3 separate regions of the Homo sapiens genome follow, and regions 2 and 3 are each linked to region 1. Evidence: promoter capture Hi-C in 16 types of primary human blood cells and fetal thymus (Javierre and others, 2016). All regions are on one chromosome and are shown on one strand. The core of a region is centred on a gene start or on the middle of the fragment in contact, and the rest is flanking DNA. Distances in the headings are between cores, read along the strand shown. Region 1 holds the start of SPRR5 (small proline rich protein 5). Region 2 overlaps LOC101928009 (a long non-coding RNA gene). Region 3 holds the start of SPRR2G (small proline rich protein 2G).

Region 1 (3,183 bases), core at 508-3,007:
GTGGAGTGTAAGATGCTGGCCCAGAAGGAACTTCATGCTCTGTTTTTCCTGGGGGTTCGCCTCTGATCACATGCCCAGGGCTTACTTCTGCTTGGACGTCTGGCACTGCTGAGGGGGTGGGCACTTGGGGGCACAGGGCTCCTGGCACTTGGGTGGGGGCTGGCAAGGCTGCTTGGTCTGTTGGGGTGGGGGGCAGTACTGCTGAGGTGGAGGGCAGCACTGCTGGGGTGGGGGACAGCACTGCTGGGGAGGGGGGCAGCATTGTTGAGGCGGCGGGCAGCACTGCTGGGGTGGGGGGCAGCACTGTTGAGGCGGGGGGCAGCACTGCTGGGGTGGGGGGCAGCGCTGCTGGGGTGGGGGGCAGCACTGCTGCGGGGGAGCACACTGCTTCTGCTTCTGCTGAGACATTCTGGGCTGGACTTGCAACTGGAAACAGAAAGACACAGAAATGAGGAACACTTGAGCCATAGAGAGACCCTAAGCCCAGGTGAACCCCCTGCCACATTCCTGTCCTGCTCTGCTTTTACCTTGCCCTGATCCCTTCACAGATTTAAGAGGAGTGTGTGTGTGTGTGTGCGCGCGCGCATGTGTAAACTTTAAGTGTTTACAAGTTATTTCAACTCTTTTCAAGACAAAGAAACATGGAAGGAAGGAAAGATAGGAAAGGAGGAAGGGAGGGAAAACAGAAATGTTAGGAGGGGTTGAAAAGAAAGAAAAACATAAAAAAAGAAAAGGGAGAGAGAGGAAAAAAAAGAGGAAGAATGAAAGAGCAGACTGTTGTATCCTATTATAGCAAAACCTGTGGCATCTGGAATAAATTGCCTGGGATCTGAGTTCTGGCTAAATCATTTATTAACTATATGATTTTGAGCAACTAAGGTTTTCCATACTTACCTCTCTTAGAGTTGGTGCAAAAATTAAATGAGTATATAAAATACATACTTAAAATATGCATGCATACGTAGGTATGTATGTACCGACACACACATGCAGAGTAGTAGCACAAAATGAACACTATATAAGAGTTGTAATTTGTTAAGTAAATTCATAAACAATTTAAAAGGCGCATCTTAACCACTCTCTAAAGGAGTTTATAAAGAGAAAACTCTAGAGATAGATGAAATGGACTATCTAGCTTGCCTCTCTCAATTACAGTTGAGGAAAGCAAACCTCAGAGGGAAGGAATGGCTTCAAAGCCACTCGGCATAGATGGTGGGAAAAGAGGTCTCCTGATTCCCAGAGCAGAGCCTTCCATGGTGCCACATCGTCTTGTCCCTGCAGCCCTTTGCTCCATGGACATCCACAACTCTGCTGTCCCAAGGGAGTCTGTTCTCTTTCCTTCCTGCCTTCTCTTTTCTTTGAAAGGACAGTCCTTCCAGTTGCTCTGCCCAGAACTGGTCTCTCCTCTCCTACTAATTCCCTCTTAGCACCTGACAAGATGCAACACCCACACCATGCCAGCAGCATCGCTGAGATACTGACCCTCTTGTAGATACCCCCCTCCTTCTCCCTGCTCAGCCCAGCCTCCCACACTACTCTGCTGGATAACTTGCTGGACCCAAGATAGGTTTGTCACAAATGATATGGAAAAAAGAGGTACCCCAAAAGACCCATCCTTTCTGACCACCACCCAGAGAATCAGCCCAGTCCATAGTTGGTTAGGGATGCAGGCAAGGCAAGGCTGCTATAAGAGGTACTACCTTTCCAGACTTACCAAGGTTCACCAGCGACTGGAGCAGATAGGTGTGGAGGGGTTTGGGATGCTCTGAGCCTATCTACCTTTTATATACCTCTCATCCCTGCCTGAGGCCATGAGGTGGCCCAGGATTGGGGTGTCCTAATTAGTCCCTAGTCACAATAGGATCCACCTGTCCTTCCTCAAATTTTAAGTTTTACTCACCCCCAGGGCTGGTATGGCGGGATTTGGAGATGACAGTGCCTTCACCCTCCCCTTGCCTCATCTCCCCATCATTTTACGAGGACTGGCTTCCTTGGATTTCCAAACCCACTCATGACTTTTGACTTAGATCCCTGGCATCTAGGATGGTCCCAAGCAAGCATTCCGACCATGCTGGGTGTGGGGGTGTGAGGGCAGTGTTCTGGGATGTTCTGGTTGGCAGAGAGGAGGGGATGGGACAGGCAGCTTATGCAGGTAACATAAGAAAACAGCTGAGGGGGCAGATGGCTCTCTTGGAAACCCACCACCCTCAGCAAAGTTGTGACTTTGACTTGACCTAGGCTCAGAGTCACATTCAGCTTGAACTGGTGGGAAGACAAGACAAGAGGCTTTCATTTTTTACCTATTGTTATTTATACAAGAAATGGCAGCTGCCACTCTCTGTCTGTTCTGCTATTGGGAAAATCGTTAGGCCCCATTCGGGGAAACTGGTTGGTTACAGTAGATAGTGCTTATCTCTAAATCTCCCTACATATATCACATATCCATATGACTCCAGGGTTCCCAGGGAAATGATTATCATAAGGTGGAGGGGGTGGGGGAAGCTAAGAAGCATTGCATTAGAGTGAGCTCATGGAGGAGTCACAGTGACTGGATTCTGGGTTCTGAGCTCCTGGGGCCCCAGTCCTGGCTCTTCCTCCTAACTTCTGTTAGAAGTTCCAGGACAAAGAAGGGTGGCACGGGATACAGACTTGGATGCTTCCCATACCTGGCAAAGGATGGAGCTCATCTTTAAAAAATTCCCAAGTGGTGCTCAGACTGAGGCTCTGCCTTTTACCAGTTGGGTGACCTTAGGAACCAGATGTTTTTGCACTTCAATTTTCTCACCTGCTAAAGAGGGTAACAGCACCATTCTGCATGTCAGTTGTAAGGATTAAAATGGACAACTTATTTAAAGTATGTGCAAGTGTTTGGCACAAAATGCATGGTCAACAGTCGTTGGGTGCTCCATGGAGATGGGCTTTGAATACTAGGGCAAGACACACTCTTAGAAATATGGAATAGGAAGTTGAAAAAAGTTGGAGGCAAGTAGTGGCACTTGCCACCCAGTGTCATAAGCTCTTGGTTGAAAGAGACAGGAGGAATAAGTTCAAGGAATCCACTGGAAGTCATGTTGACTATAGTTAATAACAATATGTGACATGAAAATTGCTAAATGAGTAGATTTTAAGTGTTTTCGCCACACAAAAATGATACATATGTGAGGTAATACATGTATTAAATAG
Region 2 (3,183 bases), core at 176-2,675, 230 kb before region 1:
TGATCATTATACATTCTATGTGTGTAGCAAAATGTCACATGTACCCCATAAATATGTATATTATGTACCCATAGAAAATAAAAATATATTACACAACCAAAAACAAACAAACAAAATTCTAAACTCTGGGAGAATGTCTTCAGATCTTGTCAATAGGAAAGATTCCTTAATCAGGTAATAAAAAGCATACCAATAAGGTGGAAAAATGACAAATTGGATTTCATTAAAATTAAAAATTTCTGATTATCAAAAACACCACCAAGATTGCAAAATGCCAAGCCACAGAGATGGAGAAGCTGTATGTAATATCTATATTTAACAAAGGGCTTGTTCCCAGAACATATATACACATGTGTTCCTACTCACAGATCAACAAAAAAACAAGAAATGAGCAAATAGAAAAATATCTGAACAACCTGAACAGGCAATTCATGAAAGGGCATTTCTGTATTTCCAATAAACATATAATAAAGAGTTTAATCTCACCATTCATAAGAGAAATGCAAATTCAAGTCACAACGTGTTATCTCCACATAGCCACCGAAATGGCTAACACGAAAAAAGATAGACAATACCAAGTTTAGACAGAGTGTGGAGCAATTGAAACTTTCACACACTGCTGATGGGAATAATAGATGGTAGAAAGAATTTGGAAAAGTTAACAGTATTCACTAGAGCTGAGCATATCCCTATCCTCTGACCCAGTCATTATATTTTCCTAGGTATGTACCTAACAGAAGTGTGTACATATAGTCACAAAAGGACAAATACGTAAATATTCACATTAGCACTATTTTTAAAAATTCCAAATTGGAAACTACTAAAATACCTTTTAGCAATAAAATGGATGCATAAATGGTAGTATATTCTCATAGAGAAATACCATACAGCAATGAGAATCAACGATCTATATCTACAAACCAGAAAATGAATCAGTATCACAAACACAATTTTGGGGAAAAAAAATCCAGGCACCAAAGAGTTCATACTGTATGATTCCCTTTATATACAGTTCAGAACATGAAGAACAAATGTACAGTGTTAGATGCCAGGAAAAAGTTAATGTTTGGGGGCTGGTAGTGACTCGGACTGCTTTTGAGAACCTGCTTCCCAGGTGGACTGCTTCTGAGATGCTGGTAACATGTTATTTCTTCATTTGTGCATTGGTTGCATGGTTGTTTAGCTTATGAAGCTTTATTAAGTTGTATACCTGTACTTGGTGAGCTTTTATTAATTTATACTTCAATTTTAGTCAGTTAAAAGGTTACTTTAAAGGGAAGGAAGCCACCAGAATGCCAATATTCCTGCAACTTAGTGAACAAGGAAAGAAAGATATGATGAAGTCAGCATAAGAGTCAGTGCCACAGCATGAAGTGCTTTGTAGGACAGTAAGGTCTTCAGACTTTTCTCTAGATACAATGGCAAGATATTTGATCATTTCAATTAGGGAGGACATAATCTTCTCTATATTTTATATGATTGCTGTGGTTGTTCTGATATGGGATTGCTGTGGCACAAGATAGGAATACGGAGACAAGATAGAAATCAGGACACAAGATAGGAAACTTCTGCAGTGGTTCAGGTGAGGGTGATGGTGGCTCTAATTAGGGTAAGAACATTGAAGATAATGAGAAGATGAGAAGTGATAATAAGCTTAAGGCAGAACTTGGGATCTAGGAAGAAGTAGTATGTGGGAGGTGAGGAAAAGAGGAATAAGAGATGAATCCTAGGTCTTAAAAATTATTATTATGACTACTATCATTATTTCAAACATTATTATCCTTATTTAGTTTGTGGCATGAGTACCTTCACACACACGATGATATTGTATATTTAAAAATGAAACCATTTCACAAATGATAGGCGTGACATTGTTATATTTAAAATGAGTGGATATTATAAACAACTTCATATTGAATTCTACAACTTAGATGAAAAGCACAAATTCCTTGAAAATAAAAAACTAACACATAAATGAAAACTTGACAGCCCTGTGATGGTCTTTTGACGTGTCAGCTTGGCTGCATGACAGTCCCTAGTTACTCAATCAAATACTAATCTAGGTGTTGCTGTGAAGGTAGATGTGATTAAAGTCCATTATGAATTGACTCTAAGTAAGGGAGAAAATCCTAGTTTATACAGGCTGGTCTGATTCAATCAGTTGAAAGGCTTTAAAAGCCAAGCTAAATCTTCCCTGAAGAAATTATATGTGTGGATTACAGCTTCAGCCTATGACAGAGTTCCAGCTTACCCTCTTGATGTCCTGACTTCTGGATTTTAGACTTGCCTAGCTGCCTTTGCAATCACATAAATTGAGTCCTTGTAGTAAATCTCTGAAGTACATTTCCAACTGGTTCTGTTCCTCTCATTGTACCCTGACTGAGACAATCTCTAAAATTATTACAGAAATAAAACCCATAGTTTAAAACCTTCCCATATAGAATGCCCCAGGTCCAAAAGGATTAACTGGTGAATTATACCACACACTTAAGAAATAAAAATTTCAATCATACATAATTTCTTTCATAAAACAGAGAAAGAGGGAATATTCACCAAGTCTTTTTCAGGTTAACGTAGCCCTGATATTGAAACTTGACAAGGACATTAAATGAAAAGAAAGTTACAGATCGTTATTCCTCAGGAGCATAGAAGCAAAAATCCTTAAGAAAATATCAGTAAATTGAGTCTAGCAATATATTAAGAGGATTTGTCACAGAATGCAAGGTTTATTTAATATTATAAATGTAATTCACCAAATTAACTGAATAAAGGAAGAAATTATATCATCTGAATAGATGTAGAGAAAGCATTTGACAAAATTCAACATGCATTGAGGATAAAACTCTTGCAAACTAGGAATAGAAAGAAATTTTCTCTATGCGATGAAGGTCATCTATGAAAAGCCTTGGCTAACATTATATTAATTGTGAAATATTTTTCCCCTAATATCAGAAACAAGGCAAGTATATCCCAATTTACTACTTCTATTCTAACATTTCCTGGAAGTTCCAGCCAGTGCAATAAGGTAAGAAAAATAAGTACAAGCATGGATTGGAAAGAAGAAGCACAAATGTCTTTACTCACAAATGGCATAATTGCCCATGCAGAAATTCCTAAGAAACTTATAGAAATATGTATTGGAACTAATATGGAACTTTATCAAGGCCACAGAATACAAGGTCA
Region 3 (3,183 bases), core at 346-2,845, 200 kb before region 1:
AGTTTTTTTTGTTTCTCTACTGTACCAACCCAATCAAGTTTGAAACATTGCAGATACAACACAGCATTCTTCTGGGTAAAGAGCACAAGGCAAAAATCTTCCCTGAGAGGGGCTTTCTCAGGAAAACAAGGTGCCGACCCTGTAGGTGCTATGGTACCCATGCCGTCTAATTAGTAGTGACTACAGCTAGAAGAATGGGGGATGCAGGGAAAGGATCTTCACTAGATAGGCCTCACTCTAAACAATGCCATTCTTTATTATCTGTTTTTGACATGTTTGAAATTATTGGTTAGTTATGATTAGTTATTATTCTTATTTCTTCTACATTTTAGAGTTTATATTTCTTAGAAGACCCACTATGTAATGTGCATAATTTTAGGCCACTCTTTGAGTTTTTGTAGGAGACTTTTGTGGTAGGTGTATTTTTTATTTCTGTTTTACAGCTGTGTAAACTGTGTTTCAAGGAGGTTAGGAAATATTTAGTTCCACACAGTAGTGGTGGCTGTAGATGTATGCATAACCAAGGTACTCAAGTTTTTTCCAAGTTGGGACAGTGAGTAATACTAGCTGAAGTGTTAATATGGTTAAATAAGCTATACTAAGAAATTATCCGTGGGATCTGTGCCAGCTATACTTTACTTATTTAGGTAAAAACATCCATGAAGTAAACAGCAGGATAAATAGCTTTACAGAACTTCACTCCTCGAATGTGCAAAGAAAGCCTGAAATCCTACTAAATGTCATTTCAAAAGAGAGAAATTGTGAAGGAGTAAATTGAATTAGCATGTAGGAGAAAAGCTTCAAAATGGATGCAGCACATACATTAAGGCAGTTTGGAAGAAAATGGGAGAAGATGAGTTTGGATTTCTAGTAGACCACAAGTCACTCATAGTTACAAGGGCCACAGAGATGAGGTTAGTGTGTAAATCTGCAAATGTGAAGCTTTAAGAAGGGGCCCCAACATGACTCTAATGGCCTAGAAAACTGAGAGATGATGTTGCCTTGTTCAAGCCCATTAATACCATGTCAGAACACACCCAGGTTGGGGCTGTCAGCATCTAGGAAGCTGATATATGATTTTGTCACCCTGTTCAAGTCAATTAATTGTCAAGAAAAGCCTAAGGATCAATAGGCCATGATAAAAGGGGAAGTTAGTTGTAAAGAAAAACTGCAGTTGAGGGTTAGGATATAGCCAGGCTGCAGGATCAGCACATACTGGTCTCTACTAAAGAGAACACAGCTAGATACTGGGCATGTGCAACTGAATGGGAGTAGTTTTACATACAGGATACTTTGGAAGCTGGGAAGTAGGAGAAGCACCATCTCTAATTATAGGGAAGCACCACAATTGTCAGACAATTTGTCACGTTCTACAATTGCCACTGGCATGAGGAACCTGAGATAATGTCCCAAGTGAATCACTGTGCACTTATCCTGCTGGGGAGGATCATGGACTAGGAATTTTGTGATACCAGCATGGATTACATGCAAGTGGTATTTTGGTTGGGAAATAAGCACATCATGCTAGTCCTGGGCTGTTCCCTGTGTAGGGCTGCCTGCCCCTTATAAAAGGACTCTCCACCACACTGATGCTATCTTCTTGCCATTCAGTTGTAGATCTTTGAAGACTCTGGTGAGTACAAATATTAGAAGCTTTTCTTGCACTTGGATGGTGTTAGGGTCTAACCTGGGTACAGAAATGCCTGTTTATTTTAACCAATTTATCCTCATGGATAGGAAAAAGAAGATAATGAGGTCTTGAAGGTAAATTTTAGCTGGTATTTGGTAGATAAACATGAAGGTGATGAGGAACCTGGAGTCAAATATATAAAATCTTAAACTGAAGGAGAGTGAGAGACACAAGATGCTGTTCTGTCTCCTGCTTCACATCTGTTCCAAATACATCTCTCTTGGAGTGCAATCTCCTTGGGTGATGGGTGCAAGTTTTTGCAATTCTCTTAAAAAACTCATGGCTCAGCACCACAGCCAGCTCATTAAAACTGGTAACTAGGGCCTCATGGAAGATAAGAGCACAGATTTGTTTGGTATTGGCTAGACTTTTAATATCTGAGTTTTTCTTCTTCAGATAGTGTTTGTATTCAGACAACATTTGTTGCTGTCTCATAGGCAATTTTATTTTCAGAAAATGGTAGAATGAGAGAACAGCCAGAAAGACGGAAGAACTGAGGGTAAGAGGTCCTAAAAGTGAAGTGTGAAGAAGGTTCACAAAGTCATAAAGACTGTATTAGGGATCAAAGTTGGTCCCTAGATACTGGAGATTTGATGTCCTAGCTAATTGCTCCACCAACAGGACTGTCTCTCTTATGAGCACTGTTTCGTATGTATCTTTCAGATTCTCTGAGACTGAGGAGAGATGTCTTACCAGCAGCAGCAGTGCAAGCAGCCCTGCCAGCCACCTCCTGTGTGCCCCACGCCAAAGTGCCCAGAGCCATGTCCACCCCCGAAGTGCCCTGAGCCTTACCTGCCTCCTCCTTGTCCACCTGAGCATTGCCCACCTCCACCATGCCAGGATAAATGCCCTCCTGTGCAACCATACCCACCCTGCCAGCAGAAGTATCCACCCAAGAGCAAGTAACATCACTAGAATTCATCAGGACCATGAAACAACAAGATCCAGTGGCTCTTCTTACTCCCAGGACTCCATCATCTTCCCTTCAGCTGTAGTGGGAGGCTGCATCTTCCCTAACCTCTGTCTGGCTTGAGCGTTGACAGAGAAAAGGCTTAGTTCTGAAAACCGATATGTTGTTGGAAGATGAGCAGCCAGATCACTGCCTAATCTCGCTTTGCTGTCTGTGATGTAGATGGTGGTTCCTATCCTGAGAGCAAGTGTGTTTATTCTTTTGCTTCTCCCCAATAAAGCACATGTTTCATGGTCAAGCCCACATTGCTTTTGTTTGCATTTCGTGTCTTTAACCTCTTCTGTTAACTACACCAAGTGAATGTTCCTTTTCATTCCTATTGAATTATTAGAATTATTAGGCTTTTCCATCACTGAATTCAGTGTTGCGTGCAATGTGTGTTTTGGATTCGGTACAACAAATAATTCTCTTTTATTGGTTTAAAACTCATTTTTACCCCTTCTAGCTTGTATGGCTGAAAAAATTACCTAAACTCTCTTAGCTTCAGTTTCATCATCTGTAAAAAGTAAGAGAGCATGTATTC

The links. The method cuts DNA at HindIII sites, captures the fragments that hold promoters and counts their contacts. A CHiCAGO score of 5 or more calls a contact.
Region 2: a contact is called between a fragment that was not itself captured here and the fragment with the promoter of SPRR5 in region 1, in 2 of 17 cell types (M1 macrophages and M2 macrophages). The highest score is 7.0, in M1 macrophages.
Region 3: the fragment with the promoter of SPRR2G here is called in contact with the fragment with the promoter of SPRR5 in region 1 in 8 of 17 cell types (endothelial precursors, M1 macrophages, naive CD4 T cells and 5 more); the score reaches 7.1 in endothelial precursors.

What each region holds. Positions count from the first base shown.
Region 1 is chr1:152,945,780-152,948,962 of GRCh38, reverse strand. SPRR5 (small proline rich protein 5) reads right to left here and starts at 1,757. Exons shown (of 2, transcript NM_001395435.1): 1 at 1,715-1,757; 2 at 1-426. The coding sequence starts at 408. The coding sequence ends at 82. The region is part of intron 1 of LINC01527 (long intergenic non-protein coding RNA 1527); the gene reads left to right. The HindIII fragment of the contact is 11,414 bases long and covers 1-3,183 here.
Region 2 is chr1:153,178,169-153,181,351 of GRCh38, reverse strand. All of the region lies in intron 2 of LOC101928009 (a long non-coding RNA gene), which reads right to left. It also overlaps a transcript of SPRR2G not described here. Among named protein-coding and RNA genes, the nearest start is that of LELP1, 24 kb to the left of the region's middle. The HindIII fragment of the contact is 461 bases long and covers 1,195-1,655 here.
Region 3 is chr1:153,149,302-153,152,484 of GRCh38, reverse strand. SPRR2G (small proline rich protein 2G) reads left to right here and starts at 1,595. Exons shown (of 2, transcript NM_001014291.4): 1 at 1,595-1,633; 2 at 2,354-2,903. The coding sequence starts at 2,375. The coding sequence ends at 2,596. The HindIII fragment of the contact is 711 bases long and covers 945-1,655 here.